Regions from separate parts of the Homo sapiens genome. Here region 1 is linked to region 2. Evidence: promoter capture Hi-C in 16 types of primary human blood cells and fetal thymus (Javierre and others, 2016). All regions are on one chromosome and are shown on one strand. Each heading gives the region's core, a stretch centred on a gene start or on the middle of the fragment in contact. The rest is flanking DNA. Distances are from core to core; before and after follow the strand shown. Region 1 overlaps NAA35 (N-alpha-acetyltransferase 35, NatC auxiliary subunit). Region 2 holds the start of C9orf153 (chromosome 9 open reading frame 153).

Region 1 (3,492 bases), core at 572-3,071, 240 kb after region 2:
CCGATATCTTGCTTGCACACTCCACGTGGCTACTTCTTGATCAAAGATTCTCTGATACACAGAACAGCAAAGAAATGAAAGCAAAGAAAGGAACCAAAAAGCTTATGTCATTGATACTGGGACTCAGTCTCTACCTTATAGTTTCTGAAAAGAGGAACAAGAACTAAAATATAATGACCAACTCACGAGTAGCTCTCCATCTATTTATCTGTAGAAATTAAAGTACACTCTGTTCTTAAGTTTAAAAATAATCCACAGCACCTTTCTTTTTTTTCTTTGTTTTTTTACTACTACGGCCTTTCTGCTGCTCTTCCATTATCCTTTCCTCTGCCATTTGAGAGCCATCGGCACGACTCAATGTTGACATCAACCATGCGTAAAGGAATTCAGAGAGATACCTTAAAGGATACAAAATGTTAGTTAATGGTAGATGTCTAAATGAGACAGCTTTATCAACACATATATTAACGATAGATATTTCAAATAATGCTTTAGGTCTTTAAAAACAGATCATTCATTAGATAATAGATTAGATCTTACAAGAAATGAACATAAGGATTAATTTTCCCTTTCTACATTTTACAACTTTCCAGAAGATTTCTTGATAATTATACATGTACATATGCAAATCAAATGAATGCCCATTAAGTTTTTATTATATCAGAACACAGTTCAGTTCAGTCTATAAATATTTTCTTTTAATCACAAAGCAAATAAAATCAGAAAAAGATAAAAAATTATCGGCATTATATAAAATCATTCTTAAAAATTAAGAACATTCACATTTACAATTTACTTGAGTTTATTTAATAAATGAAATATAAAACAGAACATTCTCTACCAGACACTAATTTTTCAGAACTTTAACACTGCTAAGCCAGAAAAGTCTTCAAATCTACGAGATATATATATATATAAAAATATATATGCATTTCATAACATAATAAGGCCTATAATTTCATATGGAGAGTAAACAATTCCTGGCCCTGAATTTAAGAAAAACATTTACTATAGTACCCTTTTATACCATATAACTGAATTTTGTTCCCTGCCACCCTACAAAATGTGAGAGTCCATAACAACTCATATATCTTAATTCAAGTGAAGGATTTCTATAGGCAACTGATGATGTCTTCTACCTTCTGTTTATCTAACCTAAGGACACATGAGTGAAGGGGACAACTAAGATGCAGCCTTTTCTTCTCAAATATCAGGTACCTCAATGATCTTTTATTAAGTGCTTTATCAAAATTAATATACATTTATGTCTAAGAGAGTGCTGATATTCTATACCAATGGTTCTCAAACTGTCATCTCTGGGCCAGCAGCAGTTCACCTGAGAACCAGTTAGAAATGCAAATTATTCGGTCTCACCCTAGACCTAACAGGTCAGGAATTCTAGGAACTTAGCCCAAAAATTTGTGTATTAATGCACTTTCCAAGTGATTATGATGCATGTTAAAGTTTAAGAATCACTGTTTTTGCTGATGATTTAAAGAGTCCACATGCTTCAGGGACCGTATGCATGAAAAACAACTAAAGGTTATCTCGGGGAAATGCAGGAGCCCAATCTGTAATTTTGAAATTAAAAAGCAGTTCAAAACCAATTATGAAAAGACCACAAGGGTATTTATGGGCAGACTAAAGTTCTTTTAACAAGAAAAGAAACAAATCTACTTATGTATATAGACAAATGTGTAATGGAGTATTTATCTGCGTCTCATTTATTTGCTCAATTAAGATCCCAATTCTCTGTGCAAAAAAGCATATAAAAATAATATTTTGATCTGAGAAATCAAGAACAAAGGTCCCATTAGCTGCTTCAAGCCACAAAAGAACCTGAGCATGTTCCCCTATAAAAAGGAACAAAAGTAGCCAGGTGCAGTGGTGCACATCTGTAGTCCCACCTACTTGAGAGGCTGAGGTGGGAAGACTGACAACCCAAGAGTTCAGGACCAACCCGGGCAACATGGCAAGACCCCACCTCAAAAAACAGAAACGAAAACAAAACCAGAATTGTCTACTATGAATAACAAAATGTAGTATCCAAAGTAGCTATATAAATACCTGTTAGTAAGGATTATTTGGTATTATCTATATAAATGTTGAAGAATATATAGCAAGGAAAATTATTCTCATACTGCTATAGTTGATGCTCAAATTCAGTTTTCACAGGCAAGAGTTGTCTGTCAAAAGCCTTCACTGCTCATAACAAAATCTACATCAACAGCATGGAAGAGAATTACTTTCCCTCCCACAGCAGTGACTTCAGAGAATACAGAATAACTTAATTACTAGGTAAAATTTAAACAAGTTTAAAAGTTGAACTCTATTAAAGTCTAATACACTAAACCTGAGTGTTTGTGATGAGTAACACAGGTCATTAGTTTAAAATTATGTGCCAGACTGAGAAAAAAATTCAAAATAACTGAATTCATTAACACTCAATCTTATTTTCTTTCTATGACAGCTTTTACATGCCTAAAATATGCTCAAACATCCTCTTTTCCAAACATCCTCTTACTAGGTTTATTTTGTCCGCAAGTGAAAGGGAAGAACTACTCTGCCGAAGATCATCTTTTATCAACTCCAAAGCTCCTGAAGTGAATCCTCAGCACCACGGTTTGAAACAGTTATGCTCCCAGTGATCACCTTGGTCATGATTTCTTCCAAGAAGACAGACCTCATTCCAATTTGATGTTTAACTGTCAAGTACATCCACAGCTAGTGCCACCAAATTCAGGGCAAAATGTGTTAATTTTTCTCCATAGGAGCAAATAAATGATCTTCAATTAATCCATTTACTTTGGAGTCATTTTTTGTTAATTTTTACATAAACATTTGGAAAAATACACTCATGCAATATTATAGCACTTAAAGATATTCAAGATGATCTAGCTCTAATTTTCAAATTTTTCCAACTGTCCCACAACTAAAGATAAAATATACTAAATGAAAAAGTACCCTGAAATTAACTCTGAATTCTCAGATCTTATCCATTGCACCCACCACCAATTTTAACTCAAACTGTGCTCTTACCAATATATGTAATAGTACTCGTGCATACTGTAGAGTTCCAATTCAAAGCCACTTAGAAGGTACTGTATCATAATGCGAAGGTTATGGTAAAGGACCCAGGTACCTAAACAGGCCAAATGTTGCCTTTGGGGTTCCTGTTTCAACAGCATGGTGTGAAGCGCTGCATCAACCTTCTCTGCCTATTAAAATAAAATGTCATAAACTGTGTTCGTTTTGTTTTCTTAAGGTAATGACAGAACTTTAAAAAAACGTACAGCTAAAAAGAATATGAGCAGAAAATTTAAATCTGACCACCCAAAGAAACATTTTTAAATGCATTTTTAGTTAGGTTTACATTTGAAGTTCTCATTTCACAATGGTTAACATTTACCTAAACATGCCTTAAACCAAATCAATTTTAAAGGACAAAAATACAAATACACTTCAGGTCTTATCAATATTGCTGCTGCACAC
Region 2 (3,744 bases), core at 1,245-3,744:
GATAATATGTTAATGGATTATCAATCAAAGCAAGAGCTTAGGGAAAGAGTTTCAACACATTTAGGGAGTTATTGTCCCATATTCAAATCTGGGGGAAATTTGCTGTATTTCCTTCAAATAAAAGACCACAGTAACTTCTTTGAAAAGAACCATAAATTTCAAATATAAACATTCGGAGAAATTTCATTCTCTTAGTAGCTGATTAACTATAGACAAACCTGCCTTAATTGAGGAGCTGTTTTGAAAGCTCATTCCCCAGTAGGAACTCAATCTCCTGGTCCCAGGTGGGTCTCATCAGACAAGAGATGGAGGAGAGAGGGAGGTGCACCCTAGCCTCAGCCTCTATTGAAATACAGAGCCATGTGGTGGTTACATCACTGTGGACTCCCATCCTCCCTTGCTGCTGTGCAGTGTTCAGGGAAGGCTTCATTTCACACCAACCTTTAGCGGGGCAAGGGCTCTGTACCAGCGGTACTCAGCTTAAAACTAGCCTACTTTGAGGGCCTTGATGGGTTACTGCTTTTACTTCCACTAGCTAGTGATTCCGAAACTTTTCATGATGAAGTGCCCATTTATTGGGCCAGGTGTGTTGGCTCAAGCCTGTAATCCCAGCACTTTGGGAGGCAAAAGTGGGCAGATCACCTGATCCCAGGAGTTCAAGACCAGCCTGGGCAACGTGGTAAAACGCCGTCTCTACAAAAAATACAAAAATTAGCTGGTCATGGTGGTACATGCCTGTAGTCCCCGTTGCTCAGGAGACCAAGGTGAGAGGATCACTTTAGCCCAGGAGGTAGAGGTTGCAGTGAGCCAAGATCGTACTACTGCACTCCAGCCTGGATGACAGAGCAAGACCCTGTCTCAAAAAAAAAAAGAATAAAAAATAAAGTACTCATTTTTTGTTCTCCATGGATTCTATGTCTTGAAGCAGTCCTCAAACTTTAAGGTGCAAATAAGTCACCTGGGGGTCTTGTTAAAAAGCAGATTCTTGGCCGGGCGCAGTAGGTAGCTCACGCCTGTAATCCAGCACTTTGGGAGGCTGAGGCGAGTGGATCACTTGAGGTCAGGAGTTCGAGACCAGCCTGGCCAACATGGTGAAACCCCATCTCTACTAAAAATACACAAAAATTAGCCAGACATAGTGGTGGGCGCCTCTAGTCCCAGCTACTCAGGAGGCTGAGGCAGGAGAATCACTTGAACCTGGGAGGTGGGGAGGTTGCAGTGACATGAGATGGCACCACTGCATTCCAGCCTGGGTGACAGAGCAAAACTGTCTCAAAAAAAAAAAAAAAGCAGATTCTGTAACAAAGGTCCAGGGCAGAGCCTGAGATTCTGCATTAGTAGCAAAGGCCCAAGTGAAGCCAGTGCTGTTGCTCTGCAGAACACCTTTGAATGGCAGGCTTTTGAAATATTTTCTCATTGGAAGAATCTTCTGTATTTATTAAATTCTGCTTAAAATTATTAACTTTCTTGTATATCCATGTTCATAACAGCATTATTCACAATAGCCAAAAGGTAGGAACAACCCAGGTGTCCATTGACAGGGGACAGGGGGTGAGAAATTTATTTCATGGACACAGATTCAGGTGGAAAAGATGAAAAAGCTCTGGAGATGGAAGGCAGTGCAGGTGGCACAACAATGTGAATGTACTGAATGCCACAGAACTGTGTACCTAAAACGGCTTAACACGGTAAGCTTCATGTTATGGATATGTTGCCACGGTGTTCACAAGTTATTAACTCAATCAGACTATTTAAATGCCCAGTAGATTGCATTCTGGGGAAATGGCTGTTTCAGGAAAATTTTCAGTGATTGCCACAGGGACCTCCCATGGGTGGGGAATGGAGTCTGGAGCACGGCTGCATGGCTCATGGAGAGAATTTGCACAGCCAGGTAGCCCCTGGTCCACTTCTACCCATATCTGGCCAGGTGCAAAGAGCATAGCTGTACCTTCTATTATCTCTCTCAATTTCTTATTTGCACTTTGCCCATGTCTATAGAAGGAAAAACTTGACTGATTAAAAATTACATTCACGGCACCTGTAGTCCCAGCTACTCAAGAGGCTGAGGCAGGAGAATGGCGTGAACCCGGGAGGCGGAGCTTGCAGTGAGCTGAGATCGTGCCACTGCACTCCAGCCTGGGCGACAGAGTGAGACTCCATCTCAAAAAAAAAAAAAAATTATACTCACGCCAGCCTGGGCAACATGGCGAAACCCCATCTCTAGAGAAAAATACATAAATTAGCCAGGCGTGGTGGCGTGCGCCCGGGGTCCCAGCCACAAGCTGAGGCAGAAAAAAAAGTAGCTACTCAGCTACTCAATGTTCACTCTTTAAAAATGCTTTTCCATCATCCTCCACCGTCTCCCACCCCCCACCAAGCAGCAAGATAATTCCCCATCGCTTAGCATCATATAGCTGCTTATGTGACCTTGAGAATGTCCACATGTCACAATGGACAGTCACTTAACACTAAGCAATGACACATGCTAGGAGTGGGGCTGGGCCTTGGGGCTGCTGGATGAATGAGACCCAGCCTCTGCCCTGGGAGTGCAGAGACTCAAGACAGATATGACCACGTGAAGAGACAACTGTAAAACAAGTGGTAAGTGCATCTACAGCCATAGCCACGGGGCACTGTGAGACCACAGAGCAGTGAAAACTAAGCCAGTCTAGGCTTGGCAAGGAGAGATGGAGTGAGGTGGGCAGTGGCTAAGGTGGGAAGACCAGAGCTGGGAGGTGAGATGGGATTTGGGTTTATCTTTACCAATAAGGATGAGGAGCCTGTTTCATCTTCCTCCAGGCAGGTCACAGAAGCTGGAACCAGTTGATCGGGCCGAGCCTGCAGACTCCCTCATCCTTTCCGGCCTTCAACACTGATAGCTCTGCTCTCTCTCCCCAACCTCAGTGCCTTCATCCTCCCCTGTGTTCCCATGGATGCTTGGTCCTGACTTTGCACCTCTCCCTCACACCCAGTGTCCTTTGTTTTTCCTCTGCCACTTGGGAGGCTGATGGGAGGATCACCTGAGCCTGGGAGGTTGAGGCTGCAGTGACCTGTGTTCACGCCACTGCACTCCAGCTGGGGTGACAGAATGAGAGCCTATCTCAAAGAAAAAAAAAAAACACTGCTCTGTATGATACTATCAAAGTGGATATATGTAATTGCACATTGTGAAATCTCATAGAATGCACAACACCAAGAATGGACCGTAATGTAAACTGTGAAGTATGGGCTTTAGTTAGTAACCATGCATTGATACCGGCTCATCAAGTATAACAAACGTACCACACAAACATAAGTAGTAAAAAAAAAAGGGGAAAGCTGTGTGTATGGTGCAGAGAAGGGGGGTTGTGGGAACATTGTACTTTCTAACCAATTCTAAAATTGCTCTAAAATTTAAGTATATTAATATTTTTAAAAAAAGTTTCGTTAAATTAGCAATATAATAGTTGCTTACCCAAGAAAATTCAGGTTTTCAAATATTGCGTTTTAAAAGCAATTATTTCCGGATGTGAGGGTGATCTGGCTGCAACATCTGTCACCCCACTGATGGCCAGGGTTAATTTGTCTGATCTGGCTGGCTAGGTGGATGTCTCCTTCCTCCCTCATCCGTCCACATGCGTCCTTCCAGACGCTGCGGACAACCTTCCCCAACAGAGGAGGGCCGTTCTTTGGGCAAGGGTATATGAGTAGCTGCACTCCCCTGCTAGAACCTCCAAACAAGCTCTCTAAAAGTAATTACTTCAA

What was found. Contacts are between HindIII fragments. The CHiCAGO score rates a contact against its expected background, and 5 or more counts as called.
Region 1: a contact is called between a fragment that was not itself captured here and the fragment with the promoter of C9orf153 in region 2, in 2 of 17 cell types (megakaryocytes and M2 macrophages). The highest score is 5.3, in megakaryocytes.

Annotation. Positions count from the first base shown.
Region 1 is chr9:86,013,445-86,016,936 of GRCh38, reverse strand. NAA35 (N-alpha-acetyltransferase 35, NatC auxiliary subunit) reads right to left here. Exons shown (of 23, transcript NM_024635.4): 17 at 3,040-3,218; 18 at 262-398. Among named protein-coding and RNA genes, the nearest start is that of NAA35, 74 kb to the right of the region's middle. The HindIII fragment of the contact is 3,436 bases long and covers 104-3,492 here.
Region 2 is chr9:86,258,407-86,262,150 of GRCh38, reverse strand. It overlaps C9orf153 (chromosome 9 open reading frame 153), which reads left to right and starts at 2,494. Exons shown (of 4, transcript NM_001276366.4): 1 at 2,494-2,601. It also overlaps the pseudogene RN7SKP264. The HindIII fragment of the contact is 3,437 bases long and covers 1,696-3,744 here.